Regions from separate parts of the Homo sapiens genome. Here region 2 is linked to region 1. The links are contacts of gene promoters, found by promoter capture Hi-C in human tissues and cell types (Jung and others, 2019). All regions are on one chromosome and are shown on one strand. The core of a region is centred on a gene start or on the middle of the fragment in contact, and the rest is flanking DNA. Distances in the headings are between cores, read along the strand shown.

Evidence for each region. Contacts are between HindIII fragments. The study calls those that stand out against the background at their distance.
Region 2: a contact is called between a fragment that was not itself captured here and the fragment with the promoter of NUFIP2 in region 1, in 1 of the 25 tissues and cell types used here (aorta).

Annotation. Positions count from the first base shown.
Region 1 is chr17:29,292,174-29,297,351 of GRCh38, forward strand. NUFIP2 (nuclear FMR1 interacting protein 2) reads right to left here and starts at 1,975. Exons shown (of 4, transcript NM_020772.3): 1 at 1,610-1,975. The coding sequence starts at 1,886. RefSeq lists silencers at 644-823, 1,454-1,573 and enhancers at 1,280-2,040, 1,734-1,833, 2,144-2,343. The HindIII fragment of the contact is 16,686 bases long and covers 1-5,178 here.
Region 2 is chr17:28,904,532-28,909,096 of GRCh38, forward strand. It overlaps PHF12 (PHD finger protein 12), which reads right to left. Exons shown (of 15, transcript NM_001033561.2): 12 at 4,252-4,350; 13 at 3,059-3,141; 14 at 2,325-2,463; 15 at 719-1,986. The coding sequence ends at 1,652. Among named protein-coding and RNA genes, the nearest start is that of DHRS13, 3.7 kb to the left of the region's middle. RefSeq lists an enhancer at 1,315-1,815 and a silencer at 4,200-4,494. The HindIII fragment of the contact is 5,059 bases long and covers 133-4,565 here.

The DNA of each region.
Region 1 (5,178 bases), core at 725-3,224:
ACGAAAAACACCTTTCTTTTTAACACGGAGAGAAGCCTCATCCGAGGCAAGATGGTAGTAGTCTAACCTCATGGATGAGCCACTTGGGTTCACCCTTAAGGACAAGAAAGAGGGGTCAAAAAGCTCGCACTCTTCCCCATCCTAACATTTTTTAAAATCCCTCACCTCAAAGACACTACCCAAGCTCAGAAGGTAAGTGCTGGGTCGGGAGGGGAATGGAACAAGGTTTTTGGATTTTTTTTTTTTTTTTGTAGAAAATGAGCTGCTAGAAGGAAAAGGCCCAAGTGAAAGCCTCAGAGGCGGAGTCGTGAGCGAACCTGGCAGGAGACGAGGTTCCTGTGGCAGAGAAACTCGTGACCGGGGAGCTGGGTTCCCGCTGGGTACCCCACCCGGCCTCAGGCACCGCCTCTACCCGAAATGAATCCCCCCGCCGCCCCCCCAGGCCTCCTGCCTCTAGGAGCGCCGCGGCCGCCGCCCGCGGCCTCCTTCCCTCTCAGCTCCGCTTCGAGGCCGGCTCCCCGCCCCGACTGCCCGCGCCTCCCGCCGCACCCGGGAGCGGGAAACGCGGCCGCTGGCGCGCGGGGCCCTGCGCAGGCCGCTCCCCTCGTGGCCGCTTCCCTCCCCCACCCCAACCGCCCCCGCCCCTCACCCCAGGGACCCGCCCGGGGCCGCGCGCCGCCACCGGGTTACACAACCCCGGCCGGCGACGGGGGGGGGGGCGGCCGCGGTGCGGGGGGCGCCGGCGCCCCCGCAGTGCAGGGGGCGAGGCTGCGGCCGGTGGTGATCCCGGGTCACCCGGCTCCGCCGCCCCGTGTGGCCCTCGACACCCTTCCCCCTCCGCTCCTCAGTGGGCCGGAGTCGGTGACAGGAATCGGCTTCCAACATGGCGGACAGGAAGCGGCCCCGCGAGGAGGAGAGAACATTCCAGCCGCGCCGGCTCTGGGGGGAGCGGGCGCGGGGCGCCGGCCTCGGGAGGAGCCGCGGGACAAGACTGCGGGGTCCGGCGCCCAAAAAGGGCGTTTAGTGGTGGAAATGACCCGTGAGATGAGGGGTCCCAACAGCCCCCCCCACCGAGACGGGGAGCCCCAAGGCCACAGGTGGGCTTGGGGTGGCGGGTGAGGGGCACTTCCTCAACTCACCCTACCTACCCACTCCTCGCCGCCTGCAAAAGGGTCTCGCGACACCATCCGAGTCGGGATTCGCTAGGCCTTCCTGAGTTACACCTCGAGGGATTTTTTGGGGGGGTAGGTTTACCCCATCTCAGGGCCCCCAAATTGAGGTAACTCCAGGGACGCAGGGAGGTGAATGGGAAAAGAATAATGAGGTTGGACTTGCAAGGCCGACCCAGCAGGTCTCCCTTCAGCCGGGGCCGGGGCCAGGAAGGTCACGCTGGCCTGGCTGGGCCTCTCCCATGCTGGAGGGAAGGAGAGGGCGCTGCAAACCCCATTGCTCAGCCCGAGCTCTAGAATGAAAGGGGCATCCCCAGAGCCGGAGGGGACACACACACACACACCCCGACCCCGTCCGCGCTTTTCGGATCCAGCCCCACCCCCATCTCTCCTGTCCTCCACCCCCAACCCCCTTCCCCCACCCGTCCTCCCTCCCAGACCTGTTTTCTTCTTCGGCGTTTCCTGGTGCTGCTGGAGGGTGTGTTTCTGCTCATGTTTCAGCGGCTTTGGCTGGGCCTTGGGGCTGCCCTCGGCTCCATGCTGCAGGTATTGGTGAGGCTGCTGGTGATGATGGTGGTGGTGGTGGTTGTGGCTGTGGTTGTAGAAATAATAATGGTGGTGGTGGTGCGGCTGCTGCTGCTGCTGCTGAGGGTGATGGTGCGGATGGTGGTGGCTGTGATGGTGCTGAGGCTGTGGCTGGCCGGGCTTCTCCTCCATTGAAAGCGGCTGGGACTCCCTGGCTGAGGCTGCGGGCTGCTGCACCGTCAGGATCTGAGACTGCTTCTCAGGGCTCACTCAGTATATCTGAGCGCGTCTCGCCAGCGCACTGGTTAACCGAGCGATTCTGCGAGATTGGCAGCCGCACTCCAACAATCAGGAGCCACGCTGTGCCGCAAGCCCCGCCCCCAGCTCAAATCCTCTTTCCTTCCCCTTCGCCGCTGCCGCCTGGCCAACGCCACTTACCCTGTGCAACCTCACAGGGCCGGGCCTTCAACGTCAGCACTATGGCTCTCTCTTCTGTCGCTTTCTCTCCTTCACCACGCAGTCTGTGAACAGCACTTTCTACACTCCTCGCCGGCAAGCAGGCTCGTGTCGAGGGTAGCAGATTCCACTGGCGATTCCACTGGTGCTGTGAGCCATCTGCTGGCTTTGCACCTCTTAGAATCTGGTGTTTTTTTGTTTTTTGTTTTGTTTTGTTTTTAATCCTTTTCCGGGTAACCAGAAAGGGAAGCTCAATTCCCTTAACCCCGAGACCACTAAAGGGGCAATACAAAAAGAGGAAATAAATACATTTTTAAGCATACAAGAGCTTCACAATCCAGTAGATCATTTTGTATTCTGGATTCATTTTGCTTTGTATTCATATGCTAATCTCTTCCTTTCCACGAAGGGATTATAGGGTTCCACAATGGGGTATCTGTGTAATTTTCTAAAAGGGCACAAAGGGTTTAAATCATTGTTTCTTTGTAGTTGGAGGCAAGGGAGAGCAGGAGGAATGAAAATTTACACTGAAGGTTTTTTTTTTTTTAATTAAACTCTGCAGGTGAGGTCAACTGTGGAACCAAAATAGGTTTTAGAATGAGAAGTTTCAAGAGCAAAGGAAGGGGAGAAAGAGCACTTAAAAGTTATTAAGTGGGTTTGTTTTTTTTTTTTTTGGCACTTATGGAAAAATTGAAATTAAAAGAAATATTCTGTAGCGTTTTGTAGTGTAGATTTAACTTATCCTGCATTACCACATCACAGTATATGATTTTCAAAAGCAAATGTTAGAGCCATGATAGTGGTTACTCAGGAAGGAAGAGGGTTGTGATGGGGAGGGACACAGGTTACTCTGATAATATTTCATTTTGGGGGCTAGGTGGTGATTACATATATTTGCTTAGTAATTATTTGTTAAACTGAATATACAGATAAAATGCACTTTTCCCAATGTATGTTATAGATTGGGGGATTTTTTTAATTGTAAAATATTCATAATATAAAATTTACCATCTTAATATTAAGTGTATGGTTCAGGTGCATTAGGTACATTCGTATTGTTGTAGAACCATGACCATCATCTATCTCCAGAACTTTTTCATCATTCCAAACTGAAACTTCATACCCAATAAAAATAAATGTCCTTTCCCTCCTCCTTCCATCCCTTGATAACCACTGTTCTGTTTTCTGTCTCTACGAACTTGACTATTCTAGGTACCTCATATAAGTGGGATTGTACTGTATTTGTCTTTTTGTGACTAGCTTTTTTGCATAATGTCTTCAGAGTAGCATACATCAGAATTTCCCTCTTTTTTAAGGCTGACTAATATTCCATTATATGTATATACCACATTTTGTTCATTCACTCAGCAACGGACATATGGACTGTTTCCTCAATGTATGTTACGTTTTTGAATTTTTAAAATGTGGCTTGAATTCCTACAACAGGACAACATTAAAGGAACAAGAAGCTTGAAAGCAAAAAGTTTATGCTATGAAATTAATGAATGTCAATGCAAAAGCTTATTTAAAACGTAAAAGCTGGTTTCCAATAACAAATGTCATTGAATCCTGAAAACCATGACCAAATTTTGGCATGTTCTATACAGTAAGGATTTGTGTTGCCTTGTTAAATTTTATTTTATTTTATTTTGAGATGGAGTTTTGTCCTTGTTGCCCAGGCTGGAGTGCAATGGCATGATCTCAGCCCACCGCAACCTCTGCCTCCTGGGTTCAAGCAATTCTCCTGCCTCAGCCTCCTGAGTAGCTGGGATTACAGGCATGCGCCACTGTGCCAGGCTAATTTTGTATTTTTAATAGAGATGGGGTTTCTCCATGTTGGCCAGGCTGGTCTCGAACTCCTGATCTCAGGTGATCTGCCCACCTCAGCCTTCCAAAGTGCTGGGATTCATGAGCCACCAGGCCCAGCCAGCTTTGCTAAATTTTAAAGAAAAACCTCTTTGGGGGTACATTTACCCAATTTTGAGAATGAAAACCCTAATAATAATATCATATCACAATAAGTCTTTACCACTGAATAATATTCTGCCACGTTCCCAATTATTAAAGAAAAAACAGGTCAGGTGTGGTGGCTCACACCTGTAATCCCAACGCTTTGGGAGACCATGGCAGATCAGTTGACCCAGCAGTTCGAGACCAGCCTGGGCAACATACAGAGACTCTCTCTCTACAAAAATTTTTAAAAATTAGCCTGGCATGGTGGTGTGTGCCTGTAGTTGGGAGGCTGAGATGGGAGGATGACTTGAGCCCTCCAGGTGGAGGCTGCAGTGAGCTGTGATTGTGCCACTGTACTCCAGTCTGGGCAACAGAGCGAGATCCTGTCTCAAAAAAAAAAAAAGAAGAAGAAAGAAAGAAAAGTATATATACAATTTAAGATTATGTTGGTATTTTTTGTTGACTTAGACATTCAGTTGGAAGGCTTGAATTTCTGAGTTCCAACTTCCCTGTCTAGGTTTTCTACATTATACCTGCAGGCAAACCAAAAGCACTCATTCTGTATTTCTGATTTATCACACTTTTGCCTACCTTTAGCTTTTCACTTACAGTTGTACTGACTGAGTTTAATAAACTAAATCTTATTCTCAGATGCTCTAGTTACTATGAATGTTGCCTTAGTAGTATGCAGTAGTATGAAGAAAGGCTTATGATATAATGTAAGAAAAAAAGCAGAATATTACATTCTTGTATACATTAGAATCATAATCTTGAACACGAATTTTAAAAATAAGAATGGAAATACAACAGTAAAACACAGACCTTTTTTCTTCTTGATTTTTCTGAAGTTGTTTTATATAAAATATAATTGGGATTTGCCAAGAATGTGAAATATTCCATTATAATAATGCCCTTAGCCGGGCGTGGTGGCACACTCCTGTAAACCCAGCACTTTGGGAGGCCAAGGCAGGCGGATCACGAGGTCAGGAGATCGAGACCGTCCTGGCCAACATGGTGAAACCCCGTCTCTACTAAAAATACAAAAATTAGCTGGGCACGGTGGCACATGCCTGTA
Region 2 (4,565 bases), core at 1,412-3,911, 390 kb before region 1:
GAAGATATACAAGTTTCTGTCCTTAGGGAGTTCAAAAAGCCCATTAGGGCACCGGGAGCAGAGTGATGACGCCTGCATGGGCAGATGAAAGTCAGGGACAGACCTCAGATTCCAGGGCCAGTTTCCTATTTAGCTGCACTGCGGATTCGGGTTTCCATTGTAGATGCTGTGGGATGAGGCTGGGGGTAGAATATTCATTTTCTATCCCTAAGGCAAAATCCTGACACACAAGCAGATGCACCTACACAAACAGTGCTGGAATATACACAGAGGTGCTCTCCATCTGAGGAGGCTGACCTCAGGAAAACTTCCTGGAGAGTTTTTCACTAAGATCTGGGAGGAAAGCATGGAATTTGGTTTAATGAAGGTCCCCGGGACTTGAGAATTAAGGTAATGCAGCAGACTCGTTTTTTGATGAGGAATAGCAGTTGTAGAGAAGTGTGACTGCAGATCACATGACTAGAAGTGACAGGTCAAGACTAGATTCCACTATCAGTCAGGGTTCTCTGGAGAAACAGCTCCCCCCGGGCCAGCAGACGCACCCATGTCATTCCATTGTCATCCACCCACCCTGGCTCACTTTTCTCCAACACCTCCCCTACCAAACTTCCCTATGGGAATGAGACCTGTTCAAAAGGCCCCCCACCTGCTAGACCCAGATCTAGGGGAGGGTCTCCTCTAAGGGTGATGACAGGTAGGACAGACAGTCAGAAAACAATTTGAAGTATTTTTGTTTTTTATATACAGAATACAGGAAAGTTTCTGTAAAGTCTAAAACATTACAATTACTATGTACATTGGTACTGGTTGTGGGGGTGGGAGGAGAGGAGGGAACCAGGGGCAGGAGGAAGAGGAGAGAAGTGGCAAGAGAACAAAAAAAGGAGACAAAACAGGTTTACGACAAAAACATTTTTGCTACAATAGACAATTTGAGAAAACGCTCTACCACATGTAGTACTGTACACGGTTTTTAAAAACATTGAAAAAATGTCATCACTAGATGTATTTACACAAAATCCAAATACACTTTTCCTTATTTGAAATAAAATAGATGGACAGCCAGAAAAAGAATTCATTTCTCATTTGTCCATAATACACAGTAGCTACCTGTAGTGCAACCGCTGCAGAAAGGGAAAATAACGTGGAGGGTGGGAACCATGGAAGGAAGGTGGGTAGCGATCTTTATATTAAATAAAACAATGATATTGTATAGATTTTGCTGTATGAAAACTGTATTTTTTCTTTTAATATAAAACTATTGTCACTGCCACAAAATAGAACAAGTTTCTGATTATTTTACAATGGTGGGCGAGGGGGAGGGAGCAGGAGGTGGGTGGGGAAGGGTTTTGTGTTGGAGGAAGTGTCCAGACCCTGGGTCTTTCCCTCCCTGCCCACGCTGTTCCTCAGCTCAGGTCTGCCGCTTTCCCATGAAATGTTGAGTACAAATATATGTGCAAATGCCCCCTAGAACTTGAGAAAAGAAAAAGGATTTTTAAAAAACAGTCAAAAGGTTTTCTTCATTTCATGCAAAGATTGTAGTTGAAGGGTTTCTGGTAGAGTATAGAAAACACCCGGGCTTGGTTTGTGTACATTTTTGCATTGCAGGAGTCTTGGGTGGGTGTACAGGCCAGTGGCGGGGTAGCCGCCAGTCCTAAGGAACAGAGTTGGAGCGCAGCACAGGGCCCTGGTGGGGCTTGAGAGAGAGCTTCTCGGCCAAGACCCCATCCTGCAGCAGGCTGGCATCGCCTTTGGGCTGTTTGGTCGCAAACTCAGTGATGCTGAAGACAAACTGCAGGCAGCCCAGCTTGATGTAGCTGCCATGGTGCAGTAAGGCTGTGCCCTCCCAGCCGGCCCCACTGCCCCCAATCAAGCTCGAGCTGCTGGCTTTGCAATTGCAGGGTCTCCGCTGCGGCCCCTGGGCCTGGGAACTCATCATGGCTGCCTCCTCACTTGGCTCTTCGTCCTGTTTCTGGTGCCGGCGGCGCCCTGGGAAAAAGGGGGATGGTCACAGAAGAGGAACAGTGAGCAGCCAACCCATGTGGGCTGTTTGCCAAGGTTGGGCTCCTGCATCTCCCCATTCCAACTGCTGCATGACTAGGGAGGAAGGATGCTCAGAAAGGGTTGGTGGAGTCTGAAGTCCCCACAGGTGTGTACACACATGGGGGTACTCAGCACTTGCTTCTCTGTGGCCTGCCCTGGGCCCACGAGGAAGTAGAGCTTGGCCAATAGGACTGGGAAGGCAAGAGACAGACCATGGGCAGCAAGTCAGAACCACCCTGACTGGGGCCTCAGCTTTGTGGCCACAGATCTCTGCTCCAACTTACTGATGACACTCTGCACTTTGGCAACAATACTGCTTGGGGGGGTTGGCGGGGTCTTCTCCGAGAAGTCACATGAATACAGCACATTGTCCACCGTTGTCCCATGCTCACTGTAGTTTAACAGCTCATAATGTTTGGTATTCTGAGGAGGAGGAGGGGAGATAAGATGTGTGGTCTGCTGTGTGGGGCCTGGGGCTAAGGGGAGAGAGGACATATGGAGAAGGCCGTGCTACTCTACCTAGAGAGTCCTTACTTGCCTCCCCAGTCATGGCCCCTGTCCTTTCAGAAGGGGGCTGGAGACACCTCCTCAGGGAAGCTTTCCTTCTGGTGTCCCACACTCCCTACTCTCCCACTCCTTCACTCTGCCCTCTCAGCACCGCTCCTCTTGGTATGATACTCACTGGCCCGTGATGATAATGAAATTCACAGGGACACACCCACAAGGCTTGGCTTCCTTCTATGCTGGTCCCCTCCCTTGCTTTAGGGTAGGCTCCCTCTGTTGTGCCTGTGACTAACCTCAGGAAAAATGGTAGCCCTGCTCCTGGGAAGCAGGTAGCTTCCCAGGTAGGATGCTATTTCACATCAAGACTCTCCTCCTCCAGGAATGACAGGGAGGGAAGAAAAAGAGAGGACCCCCAATCCCTCTTCCCTCCCCTCAGGGCACTGAACAAAAACCTACTGCCTGGGAGAGGCCTCAGGTTGGGAAAGCTCCCTCCCACCGCATCTCCGGCCCTCACCTCATCGTAGAATATGCAGGCATGTTTCCCGGACACGTAGTTACAGTGACCATAGTTTGTAAGGCACACATCCATGTCAGCTCCTGCAAGGTGGCAGGAGTAGAGGAAAAGGAAGGCAGAGAACAGATTGTAAGGTGCATGTGTCGGGGAGGTAAGACAGGGAGAGAGTTAGCTTCTGGGTTGGCACTAGCAGAGACTTCAAGGGTGAGTAGCTCAGGGCCCTCCCCTTTTATTTTTGAACAAAAACTGTTGTCTTTTCCAAGCTCCTGATAAAGAACAGCTGTCCCTGCCAGCTGATCTGCTTTAGAACATGTGGCTGCTACCCAGAAGGGAAGAGTGAGCTACTGAAGAGGATGGGATATTTCTATGAAAATACAACATCGGGGTGCAGAGCCTAGAAAATCTTATCACCTTAAAGAAAGGGAAGTTTCTAGGGTAAGGGCTAATCTGTCTGTCCTTCTGTACCAGATACAGAGCTATCGGTCTCTAGGACTTTTAGGGAAAACAAAACAAAACAAAAAACAGATACAGGGCTAACTGAAGATTGGGTATGTGTGAGTCTATCACTCTTTCAAAGACCACCAGGGACAAAGCATCTGCCTTCTCCTTAGGTTCTTCCCTGCAGTGTTTAAAGTGCCTCCCTGGGCAGTAGTCAGAGCTGACTTTCATCTCTGCTGTTGCAACACTGGGCAAAGACAAAGCAAAAGGGCCTGAACAAGGGAAGACAAGGAACTGATTGTCTCTTTTATTTTTGAGACAGGGTCTCACTCTGTTGCCTGGGCTGGAGTGCAGAGGCACAAAAAGGATCACTGCCTGGACCTCCCAGCCTCAGGTGATCTTCCCACCTCAGCCTCCCAAGTAGCTGGGACTATAGGCATGTTAGCCCAGCTAATTTTTTATATTTGTTTTTGGTAGAGATAGGGTTTCACCATGTTGCCCAGGCTGGTCTCGAAGTCCTGGGCTCAAGTGTTCCTCCTGCCTTGTCCTCCCAAAGTGTTGGGATTATAGGCGTGAGCCACCGTGACTGGCTGATTGTCTCTATTCTTAGTTTCTCTTGTCTAGCTATCCACTGATTTAAAGCAGTCAACTCTGGAAAGGGCTTCCCTCACCCCTTTCTAACTTCTGTGGGTAAGGGTGTCAGTCTTTAGGGCTGAACAGATTCAGTGTCTCTCCCAGCTTCCTGGCTGGCTCACCTGTCCCGATGTAGAGGGTTCGATAGCACATGTTCACAGCTCCTCCCAACCCTAAGAGGGGGTAGAACACAGCTCGGGCCTGTACCTCCTTTCTTTGCACTACAAGACAAACATAGGAATAGGATCATTCAGAAACTCAGATCCTGTGATCCAAACATAAACCAACAAAATCTGGACCTTTGGCTCATGGCCTGGAGAAAATCCCGCTGGATGACTCATCTTTCCAAACTCACATCCAACACTGAGCTGCGGCAGGGTAAGGCTTTCTCTCCCCACCCACAGCATTTCCAACACAGGGTACAGAGGACCATCTT